Linked DNA regions of Homo sapiens: region 1 is linked to region 2. Evidence: promoter capture Hi-C in 16 types of primary human blood cells and fetal thymus (Javierre and others, 2016). All regions are on one chromosome and are shown on one strand. Each heading gives the region's core, a stretch centred on a gene start or on the middle of the fragment in contact. The rest is flanking DNA. Distances are from core to core; before and after follow the strand shown.

The links. The method cuts DNA at HindIII sites, captures the fragments that hold promoters and counts their contacts. A CHiCAGO score of 5 or more calls a contact.
Region 1: a contact is called between a fragment that was not itself captured here and the fragment with the promoter of TEAD3 in region 2, in 1 of 17 cell types (non-activated CD4 T cells). The highest score is 6.0, in non-activated CD4 T cells.

Annotation. Positions count from the first base shown.
Region 1 is chr6:35,277,506-35,283,938 of GRCh38, forward strand. ZNF76 (zinc finger protein 76) reads left to right here. Exons shown (of 14, transcript NM_003427.5): 2 at 3,551-3,719. The coding sequence starts at 3,647. Among named protein-coding and RNA genes, the nearest start is that of DEF6, 17 kb to the right of the region's middle. The HindIII fragment of the contact is 1,097 bases long and covers 1,299-2,395 here.
Region 2 is chr6:35,492,727-35,498,328 of GRCh38, forward strand. It overlaps TEAD3 (TEA domain transcription factor 3), which reads right to left and starts at 4,353. Exons shown (of 13, transcript NM_003214.4): 1 at 4,172-4,353. TULP1 (TUB like protein 1) reads right to left here. Exons shown (of 15, transcript NM_003322.6): 15 at 5,148-5,602. The coding sequence ends at 5,601. It overlaps LOC124901309 (a long non-coding RNA gene), which reads left to right and starts at 5,407. Exons shown (of 2, transcript XR_007059561.1): 1 at 5,407-5,481. RefSeq lists enhancers at 1-100, 1-171, 2,597-3,382, 4,329-5,259, 5,260-5,602 and silencers at 4,161-4,210, 4,391-4,520, 4,531-4,860. The HindIII fragment of the contact is 26,537 bases long and covers 1-5,602 here.

The DNA of each region.
Region 1 (6,433 bases), core at 597-3,096, 220 kb before region 2:
CTCTGGATTAAATGGCCTAGGGTGAAATCCTCCTTTACTAGTTAGCTGTGTAACCTTGAGCAAGTTACTTAACTTGGTCTTGGGCCTCCAGTTCCCTCACTTTTAAATGAGGATAATCATAGCATTTGATTGTAGGATTGTTAGAACTAAATGAGTTAATGTATGTGACATTCCTAGCACGTGGTTAACTCTATAGTAGTGTTCACTATATAATAGTATTGCTGCCCTTGCACCTTAGCCCATTTAGTAAATGTTTATGGACAGAATGAATGAATAATTCTAGTTGAGATGCCATGCCTGGGGTAGAGCATTCCAATCAGCGTGTCGCAGTTGGTCTATAGGTTTTTTTGGGTTTTTCGTTTGTTTGTTTTTGAGACGGAGTCTCACTCTGTCGCCCAGGCTGGAGTGCAGTGGTGCAGTCTTGGCTCACTGCAAGCTCCGCCTCCCAGGTTTATGCCATTCTTCTGCCTTAGCCTCCCGAGTAGCTGGAACTACAGGCGCCCTCCACGCCCGGCTAATTTTTTGTATTTTTAGTAGAGACAGGGTTTCACCCTGTTAGTCAGGATGGTCTGGATCTCCTGACCTTGTGATCTGCCCGCCTCAACTTCTCAAAGTGCTGGGATTACAGGTGTGAGCCACCACGCCCAGCCAGTTTTTGTTTTGTTTTTTTCTTTTTTTTTGAGACGGAGTTTCGCTGTTGTTGCCCAGGCTGGAGTGCAATGACACGATCTCGGCTCACCGCAACCTCTGCCTCCCAGGTTCAAGCAATTCTCCTGCCTCAGCCTCCCAAGTAGCTGGGATTACAGGCATGTGCCACCATGCCCAGCTAATTTTGTATTTTTAGTAGAGACGGGGCTTCTCCATGTTAGTCAGGCTGGTCTCGAACTCCTGGATGGTCTATAATTTTGCCAAGATATTGATCCGCTCGCCCCTCAGGGCTGTCAAAGCCCCAGTTGGTCGCTTCTGGCTTGAAGCAGTGACATCTGCAATGTGAACTTCTGACTTTAAGCAGCAGCATCTGCAATGCAATGTACAAATATCTGTCTCTCTAGGTCCCCTGACATGAAAACAGTTTGGGTAGCACCAGTCAAAGATATCGGTTGGTAAGTCGTGAGAATCCAGTAGGCAGTCCAGATTCCAAGTCCAGGAGAATTTTGAGAATGGATGTCAAAGAGAGTCTTCACGACTGCACTGAGTTTAGAGGCCGTGGGCTTCCTGCAGGCTTCACAAGTGTTGGGGTCCACTGCTAGAGCAGGCTGCACACCACAGTGGGTACAGAAGATATCCTGCCAGCAGGAAGCTTCAGTGCTTCCCACCTTGCACATGAGGGACCCAGGGAGTCACTCACAGGATGTGTGGAGAGCCCACAGTGTGAGTTGCTGGAGAAACCACTGTGACGCAGAAACCAGGCTAGAGCCCAAAGCCTTGTGTAGGCAACGGACATTAAACAGATAGTGATGAGTACTGAAGTAGGTTGAGCCCAGAGGTGTGAGTGCTAGGAAAAGGTGGTACCTAGGCTGTGGGAGTTTATAACAACCCAGCCTTGTATGCAAGGTGGACTCTAAGAGCTGTAGGAAACTATGGAAGGGTTTTAGTCAAGGAAGTGGTATGTTTAGATTTGTACTCTTTTTTTCTTATAAATCTACTTTTATTTATTTACTTTTCATTAGCTTAAGTCCTTGAGGGGCACAGCGTCACACAGATTCTGTGTTCAATAGCTTTAGCAAGATTGCTTGGGAATTTAGCACAAACCATGCCACTGTTTCCATGGGCCTGAGTTTACCTTTCCCCAGATTATGCTGGTTTTCTTCAGTTTGCTGCCAGCAGTCAGTGTGTTGTTCTTTGCTTTATACATGTAAGTACATCTCTTGCCTAAATAGAATTAGTTTCATTTCGAGCATAAATACCTTCAATTTTTTTTTTTTTTTTTTTTTTTTTTTGGGACGGAGTCTCGCTCTGTCGCCCAGGCTGGAGTGCAGTGGCGCGATCTTGGCTCATTGCAAGCTCCACCTCCCAGGTTCATGCCATTCTCCTGCCTCAGCCTCCCAAGTAGCTGGGACTACAGGTGCCCACCACCACGCCCGGCTAATTTTTTGTATTTTTAGTAGAGATGGGTTTTCACCATGTTAGCCAGGATGGTCTCAATCTCCTGACCTCGTGATCCACTGTCCTCGGCCTCCCAAAGTGCTGGGATTACAGTCGTGAGCCACCGCACTTGGCCAATACCTCAATTTTAATAAGAGCTGTGTCCTCGCTTTGGTTCTGGAGGCCCCACTTACAGCTAGCAAAAAATGGCCTTGGACTACAGCCTTCCAAATGTATTGTATTTATCTTATTATTATTTTTGAGACAGAGTCTCTTTATCACCCAGGCTGGAATTCAGTGGTATGATCAAAGCTTACTGCAGTTTCAAATTCCTGGGGTCAGGCAGTGCTCCCACCTCAGCCTCTTGTGTAGCTAGGATTGCAGGCATGTGCCACTACACCTGGCTAATTTTTTTTTTTTTGTAGAGACAATGTCTTGCTGTGTTGCCCACATTGGTCTTGAACTCCTAGCCTCAAATAATCCTCCTGCCTCAGCCTCCCAAAGCACTGGGATTACAGGCATGAGCCACTACACCCCGCCCATATTTGCCTTTTGGAAGTCCTGTTCTCAGCAGGCCTCTACAGGCTCCAAGATAGTGGGAAGAGAGCTTTTTTTTTAAATTCACCCTGACAGCATAAACATGAATGTTAGAACATGAGTTGGAAGAGGCTGAGGCAGGAAGATCACTTGAGCCCAGGAGTTCGAGGTTACAGTGAACTGTGATGGAGCCACTGCACTCCAGCTGGGCGACAGAGTGATACTTTGTCTCTAAAAAAGGAAAGAAAAGAAAATGAATTGGAAACAGACAAAAGTTTATCTGAGGACATAAGTTATAAGGCTCCTTATAGTTGTCCAGAGGTGAAAGGTGAGACATGCCTGAAATAAGTACCTGGACTTTTAAGGGAAAAGGAGGACTCAAGCATGATCCCCCCCCCCCCCGCCCTGAAGTTCTGGGTGGAAGGCGATACCACCCCTGGGATAGGGGATACTGGAAGTACAATAGTTCTGGAAGGTTGGGACACATTGTGAGTTCTGTTGAGGACTTATTCCACGTGTGGTACATGTGGGATGTTCCCTGAGGATGGTTAACAAGCTCAGTAGATAAATGGGTCCGAGCACAGGAGAGATGTTGGAGTAGGCAGAGAGAACCATCAGCAGTGGGGTTAACTGCCTGCCTTCAGCAGGGCTCCTTCCTAAGGGGAGAAAGTTTAGAAATGGGTTTTGATCAGTGATTTCTTACTTTATGACCAGTTTGATTGGCATGCTTCTCTTCTATGCTTAACTTTTAGAATTCTTAGATAATGTGTATTTTGAGCCCTTTTCATAAAAACCAATATAGTTCACTACTTTGAAGAATTCATCTTTTTTCTTCTTGGCTGGCTGGCCTCATTAACTCCTTCCCTGAGTGTCTTTGCGATAGGAGAAAGCTGGTTAACTCATAATGTGATACTGTTTATTTTCTTAGATTTGTGACCCAGAAGGAAATCTCTGACCTCAGCTGTGGCTCTTGGTGCTGGCCAGAAGCCAACTTCATGTCTGAGTGCACGAGCAGCAGTTTGCCATGGAGAGCTTGGGGCTGCACACGGTGACCCTTAGTGATGGGACAACAGCCTACGTCCAGCAAGCTGTCAAAGGTAAGTATTTCTGGGGACCTCAGGATCCTGCCCTGTCCCTCAGCCTCTGGAAAGGAGTGTCCATTTCTAAGAGTCCCACCATCACCTTGCCCTCCCGCCTGCTTACCCTTGCCCACCACCACAATTTGCTCTGCATTAGAATCTCCTGTGGTGCTTGATGAAAAGGGAACTCTAAAATAAAATGCTACAAGTCAGACAATCCCAGTCATAGGAACCAATACCTCTCAAAGACAGAATTCCTAATATGTAATAAGCAGTTGATAAATATTTCTGGAATGAACACAGTGTTAGTTATGACTCCCTGCTTTTCAGATATCCCCTGTCACAGTTTTTTAGTGCTTTCTAGAAGCAGTTTATCATCTTAATTCAAGTATATTCAAACATTCAAACTACTAAGCATCTGCCATGTACAAGATGCTCTTTTAAGCCAGGCATAGTGGCTCATGTCTATAATCCCAGCACTCAGAAGGCTGAGATGGAAAGATCACTTGAGGCCGGGAGTTGGAGACCAGCCTGGGCAACATAGCAAGACTCTTGTCTCTAAAAAAAATAATAAAAATAATAATCTGGGTGCAGCAGCATGCACCTTTAGTCCCAGCTATTCAGGAGGCTGAGGCAGAAGGATCACTGAAACCCAGGAGTTTGAGGGTTCAGTGAACTATCACTGCACCACTGCACACCAGCCTGGGTGACAGAGCAAGATCCCATCTCTTAAAAAAAAAAAAAAAAAAAGATACTCTTCCTGATTCAGAGAGGAACACCCAAGCAGAGATCTCATGCCCTAATCCCCACTAGGGGATGCCAGAATTGAAAATATAGGACATGTAGTTAAATTTGAATTGGACGTAACAATGAATACTCTTGTAGGATACATACATCCCAAATGTTGTAGGGACGTATGTATACCACATACTAGGGACATACATATACCCCTTATAAGGGATAGACATATATAAATGTGGGATTAAGCTGGGCTTGGTGGCATGCACCTGTAGTCTCAGCTACTTGGGAGGTTCAGATGGGAGGATCTCTTGAGGCCATAAGTTTGAGGTCAGCCTAGACAACAGCAAGACCCCATCTAAAAAAAAAGTAGGGGGTGTTAAATACTATAAAATACTAAAATAATAATACCAAGTTCTAAAAAAAAAAAAAAAAGTATTGTTTATCTGAAATTCAGATTTACCTGGGCATCCTGTATTTTATCTGGCAATTCTATCCTTACACTGAAGGTACTTAAAATCAAGGTAGGTGTGGAGTCAGAATAAAGTGTTTAGGGCAAGGCCTGCAGGCCAGGGACACTTTTCCTTTCTTGCCAGTGTTCTCAGGCAGCCAGATAGCATTCGTGTCTTCCTTGGACAGCACCTTGAACAAGGCAAATACTGCCTTGTTCCTACTGTTCATTTGGCGTTTTCTGGACTCCATGATTGTCACTGTCCTCCTGAAGCACTGTCATTGCAACATTGCCCTCCTTTATTTCAACACACTCTCAGAATATATTTCTGCTCCTAAGTTTACAGATAAGTTGTTTATTGATTTCATTTTAAGTTGTCTGTTTCCTGATGATGACTAAGGAGTCCCCTTAATCTCATCAGTAAGCACTTTCCATATGACAGTGTGTGGGGGTCCCTTCTGGAAAGGTTTCTTGTCAAGAGCTGTCTGTGACATGTGGGTTCTTGTTGGCTTCATCTTCTTGAGAACGCAACTTCTCTAGAATGCTTTTGAAGCCTGAAACTCTCTGTTTGCAGACTTCCCACTCCAGGTCTTGCCCCTCCAGTGCAGTCTCCATGGGATGGAAGAACTTAGAACTCTAGCTAGGGTTGTGTTTACTCCTTGGACCCAGTTAGTTCCCGTGCCTCAGTCTTCCACTGAGAATTAATGGTCAAACAAATGAATAAAAAGCAAGTGACCACACCTGACCTGAGAGAGCCACTCTTTCCTTATATCTATCCTTCTTACGTATTTCTTTATTCTGTCAGTCTTCCTGGCTGTTCTTTGCCCACTCTGTAGTGTTGCAGTGTGCACTTACACACACACATATGCAAACACACACTCACTCACAACAGATTTTCCCTCTGCTCAGGGTAGAGCTCTCCTTCAGAGACCAGAACCACACTTTCCTGAAAGGCTTCTCTGACTTCTCCTCTGAAGCTTTTGACTGAGGCATTTTTGTCTCTGTCTGCTGGAAGCCCTAAAATTGTAAGAGACTTATCTTTAATTAGGATGAGTATAAAATGTATTATTCAAACCCAGCATTTTAAAAGTGGAAGAATGTGCTATTAATAAATGCACTAGGACTGTTCCAGGCAAACTGGGGCGTATGGTCACCTCTCTGTAATGGGATATGAGGCCCTTGTCAGTCAGCTGTTCTCCCCACTGCCTCTCTCCATTGTAGTCTCTGGTTGTTTGAGGAAATAGTAGGCTAAGTTTTTTCTTCAGACAACTCTTCTCAACATTTTGTTTTCTACCTTGAAGCAGTACCCACTCTGCTGGCCGTAGCTTGCTGATGCTTTCAGAACCCCAAGTACTGATGCCCTTGCCAGGACAGATAAATTGTTAAAATGAGGGTAGCCTACTGCTCTGTGGGTGGGAGGGAAGAAAATGGGTTCATCTTCCCCCCATCTCAGCTGCCTTTCCTATTTCTTACCTTTATCTCCACCTTACCTGCCTTTGGTTAGTTGTAGGACTGTTAGTTACTGACCCCAAGAAGACTCAGT
Region 2 (5,602 bases), core at 3,103-5,602:
CCCAGGCCTCCTTCTGCAAAGCTCATCTCATCTGTTGTCACGCTCCTGCTCCCTGAAGCAGTATAGCGGGTAGGAGGGTGGAGACTCAGCCCTCAAGTCCCCTGTAGAGAGAAGGGCCCAGTTTCCAGACCTCCCTTCACCCCCTCCCTGGGACTGACTTATCTCCTCATCTTGTCCTGGTCCCAGGGTGGGAATCTCAGGTATCCAGTGAGAGACAGACTATAGGGGGTCACTGGGTTTCTCAGTTCTCAGTTACCATGCCAGACTCCTGGTACTCTGGGTCGCCCACTGGGCTCCCACCAGCCACTCAGTCAGTGCCCTCATGAGAGTCACGGTGTCATCTAAGAACAAATAGGTTTCCTCTGCGCCCTTCCTCTCGCTCGCATACACAGTTGCGTCACAGCCACTGTCCTGCTCATTCACTGTTACCCGCATCTCTCTCCTGCTGGGTTTTTAAAAATGTCTTTATTGTGATAAAATATACATAACATCAAGTTTACCATTTTAGCCATTTCTAAGTGTACAATTGAGAGGCATTAATTACATTCCTTCTTTGTTTTTATCAGTGTCTTTCTCATTGTCTTCCACATAGATGCCACACGTCAGGGACCACAGGCCCCCAAAAGCATCCCACAGAGCCTCCTACACGCCCTGCCTGGCACAGCCCTGGGGGTGTCACCCACACTACCCGAGAGTCCCAAACACGCTCAGATAGTGACCACCCACCCACAGCGCCAGCATCAGTCACGCCCCACGGTTTCTCTCACATACGGTGTCGCTTTCTGGTGCTCAGTGTCACCCACACACCGCATACCATATTCATGCTTGGCACATGTCGGATGGGGCCCACCTTGCTGGTACACACATCATACTGACACAGAGCTGGTCATGTTGTTTTACTCGCATGTAGTGTCACATGTAAGTCACACACAGACAAACCTGAGGCCATCTCACATGCTGCGTCACAACATGCAGGTCACAAGTGGTCACACCACAGCGTAACACATCACACAGATCGCCACTCATCCGGCTTCTCACGCACACGCGCCCGCGCGCTCACATACACACAGCATCGTGCGAGTGCGGTGTCCTTCACACGCAGGTCACTTGAGCATCAGAGCCACACCCAGTGTCATCTCCAGGTACACACAGATGGCTAGGCAGCCAGCTTCCTTCATCGGCACATCCTGGGTGATGCCCTGGCACACACAGAACATCCCCCATGCAGGTTCTCAGGTACAGAGGTGGCGGCACACCTGGACACATGAAGAGTCACCCAGTTTCTCTTATGGACGTGTATATCTGTCACACACACGAATGTCACAAAGCCACAGTTTCTCTCCTGCATACACCCAGCCCTGCACAAGTTGCTCTGACCAAGGTTCTCTTCCACACACATCCAGCCCCACAGAAGACAAGTCTCACCCACATAGAATGTCCCACTCATGGCTTCTCTCACACACATCCAGCGTCACACACAGTTGCATTCTCATTTCCCTCTAACACTTCCTGCCCTTTCAGGCCTGGCAGGGAGCACAGGAAACAATCGGCACTCTAGGAAACCCCAAGGGCTGAGGCTTTAGGGATGTGCAGGGGGATGAACCTCTCTGGCCCTAACCTCAACCTCCTGTGGGTCGGGGAAGACAGGCAGAGCCCTTTCCCTGGCAGGGTTCTCCCTGGAGGGAAGTGGCCCCTTCTGCAGACAGCCCAGGGCTGGCACAACACCAGGAGGGGAGGGGAGGGAAGGCAGGGCAAGGCCCCAGGGACAGTGCCGAGTGTGACCTGCTGACCTCCCCAGCTCTACCCAGAGGCAGATCCTCAGGGCCACCCCTGGGACCCCACAGCTTCTGCAGCCCCCATGTGGGAAGAAGAGGCTGCGACCTCCTAGCCCCTTCACAGAAAGCTGCAGCGTTTAGACCCCTGGGCTCCTCTCCCCATCCTGGGCGGGGAGGAGGAGGAGGGCAGGACCAGCGATTTCCACACTGAGCCCTGGGACCCCCACAGGTGTCTGGGAGTGGGGCAGAGGGTAGAGCCACCCAAGCGGCCTCTGAGCACCCTTTGTGCCATTCAGCCCTAACAGAACCCATGACCACTTCAGAGGCAAGATCCCCCAATCCACCAAGCCCCCCTGTCCCTTGACACCTGCCCCCCGCCACCTTTTCAGCCCTGTTCATCTGGCTGAGCTACTCCTCAGTCACCCCTTGGTTTGTCCTTGCCTTCTTCTTTGGGCCACTGGATCACCCACCCGCCTCTCCAGACCCCACCAAGTTCAGGTTCCATCATGGGAGAAGGAAGGCAAACTGGGAGACAGACTCTGGGAGGAGCTCAGAGAAAAGGGACTTGAGAAGTCATTCATTCCAAGCAGGGAAACTGAGGCCCAAAGGGGCCTGCCAAGATGGCGCAACTGGTTAAAGGTCCGGAGGGGACCAGATCCCTATTTCTTGACCACCTCTGTTGAGATATCTTCTCCTTTGATATTGTTGAGAATATCAAATCCTCCCGGTTTTAACATTCCTTCAGTTGGCAGAAAGTGCCAGGGTCTACAAACCTTTGGGTGAGGATGGGAGCAGGGCTCAGGACCCATGTGATGCTTCTGTACACTTAATGTGCTGCTCTGTCCTGGCAACCACTGACCACTCTAACAAGCCATTCCCCAGCCCAGATGCGCTCATTAGCATTAATGACGTTCCCTCCCTGGGGGGGTAGGGGAAGGCCCAAGAGCTTGGGACTCATACTGGCTCCTACCCTCTCCCTGAGGAGGGGGCATCCAGGGCCCCTGAAGTTACCCTTACTGGACAGCCTTGTCCTGGAAGATCTGTGCACTCTGCCCACTGGGTGAGCAGGGACCCAGAAGACCACAGAACCACATCCTTTAGGGAGTGCCCCTACGAGAGGGGTCTTGGTGGGAGGGGGGCTACAGGAGTCTAGAAGGGAGAGGACATAATTCCCCCAAATCTCCAACTTTTGAGGAAAGCCTCCCCTCCTTGCCCCAGGTGGCCCCAGCACTGGGGTGGAACATGTGTACAGAGAACCAGGCCACAAGAGACTGGATACGCAGAGCCGCTATGGGCACCAGCCCCTCTGAGCTGTGTCCAGCCCCTACCCCTATGCCCTGTTCTTCCGGACAACAAGTCCAGGCCTGACCTGGTTCTGCCCCTACCTGGAAAGAGGGAAGACACAGAAGAAGACAGCCCCTGAGAAGTCCGCCCCAAGGCCTCCTTCCCCCTCGCACTGAAAGAATCTCTCAGCCCTGGATCAGGGCCCCTCACCAGGAAAGTTGACAGAGCGGGGTCTCAATGACACTGCCCCAGGGCCCAGCTGGGCTGGAAAACAGATCCAGACCAGCGCTCCCAGCCCTCCCTCCCCTAGCAGGAATAAAGGGCATGACAGACAATGGTGGGGACCGGGGTAGGAAGCGGGAGACCAGCCACCCTCAAACCTTGTCAAGTCTAAACAAGGGCCCTGAGCAAGTGTGGGGAAGAAAAGGCCCCAAATCCAGACCCCTCCGAGCCAAGCTCACAGCGCTCAGGGCTGGAACTCTGAATCAGCACCCCGACGCAGGCGGCAGAACTGAAGGGAACGTGAGCCCCTCCCTGCCTCTCAGGGGACACACGGCCGGGGCGCGCGGCTTTGGTCCCAGACACCCTCCACAACCCAGCGCAGCCGCGGCACCGCGCGCAGAAACCGGCCTGGGCGCTGGGAGGCCGGGCCCGAGGCCTGCGTGGAGCTGAGGCCGGGCGGGCTCCGGGAGCGCGCGGGCCGGGAGTCCAAAGGGCGGCGGGGCCCGGGACTGGGCGCCCCGGATATGAGCTCCAGGGTGGCAGGCAGGCCCTCCACACTGTGCGGCCCCCGGATCCCCGCCCCGACCCCCCAAGCACGGACGGCGGGACAGGCGACGGCACAGGGGACACGGTCTCCCCGGCTTCCCCACCTTCCCGGACCAACTCGTCCCCGTCGCGGGGGGGTGGGGAGGGCGGGGGGCGGGGCTTCCCGGAGAGATTTTCCCCCTTCCCTCTAAACTTCCCGGCACCCCGATCCGGGGCTCCAGCTCCGGCTGGACAATAGCTCGGGGACCCAGTCCCCCTCGAGTGTCGCCCCCCCAGCCAGCCCAGCCGACCAACCAAACCACCTCTCCCGAGCGGGGCCTCCTCCCGGCGTCCGCCCGGCTTACCTGGTCCGAGCTCGCGGGGGCGCTCCGGCCGGGCCGCTCCGCCGGGCCCGAGGGAGCCGCAAGGGGGGCCGGGGAAGGGGGGTCGTGGGGAGGGGGCTGGCCGGAATGTGCGGAATGAGCCGGGCTGGAGCGGGAGGCGCCGAGCGCGGAGGAGGGAGCGAGCGGGACGGAAAGTTTGTGTTGAGGAGCCGGGGCGGGGGTGGGGGCTGCGGGAAGGAGGGGGCGGGGCGCGCAGGGGGCGGTGCTGGCCGGGAGGGGCGGGGCCGTCCAGCCGCGCTCGGGCCGCCTACCCCGCGGCCTCGCGACCCGGCCACCCCGGCTGGCGCGCGCCTGGGCGCCCCGCTCCTCGCCCGCCCGTGCGGAGCTGCCTTCCTCCCCCTGCGCTCCGGGCCTCGCCCCGCTCCCGGGCACCCGCCGGAATTTGGGGCTCCGGCCTGGGGCGGGGCCGAGGGCGGAGCCCTCGCCTCGCGGGCAGGGCTCCCGTCGGTGCCGGGGGCCGTGGGTGCCGCGTCACGAGGAGCCCGGCAGAGCCGGAGCGCACGGGCCCCGGGGCTCCCGGCCCCTCCACCCTAGTCCCGAGCCGCCAAGGCGGAGCGTACCCTCCAGCTCGCGGGCCTGCCCCCCACTCCCGGGGCCCCAGACCCGGCTCCGCCCTGGCGGCTGCGCCCGCCCTGCCGGGACCCGGTTTGTCTGGTTCTCCCCGCGTGGCTAGTTTCTCGAATTTCTTCTCCCTTTCTCCCTCTTCCCCGACCTCCGGGACCCTCCCTTTCGCCCCGGCTCCCCGGGCCCCCACGGGGGGCGTCTCGACGCTGTGCGGCCGCCGAGTTTCGGTAGGACCCGCGACGGGCGCGGGGAGGGGACGCGGGAGCGCCCGGGGCCTGGGCAGGAGTGGGACGGGGGTTGAGACTTCCAGCTCGCGCCTCGGACGCCTCCTGCCGCCTCGTTCTCCGCACGCGCTGAGGAACCACCGCTCCGCTTGGCCAAGGACGCGGCTTTATTGGGGATGTGGGTGCCTGGCCCTCGTCCCCCATCACCTACCCCCTCCTCCTAGCCCGCCCCAGCTCCTCGGAGCCCTAGCGCGGTCCCGGGGAGAGGGGAGGTTAAAACAACAATGACTACTGCTCCCGGACAGGAAGTGACTGGGGCGCGGGGAGGAGGGGGGCACAGCGGCGCAGGCGAGCTCCGAGACCAGATGTGCGGCTCCAACTCCAGATGTTCTTCATCTCCGTCCTACCCGCCGTCCGGGCTCCTCCTGCCTCGGCCTGTGCCAGGCTGGGGAGAGGACGGAGGTCACCGAGAGGCAGTGAGAGGTCAGCCCCGACACAGGAGCAGTTTTCCGCGGGAGCTTTGCTGGAGGGACCCTGCCAGCCTCCACTGAATCCTTTCCCCCACGCTGACGGGCTCTGGGGGCGCTGAGGGGCTGCTGGGGTC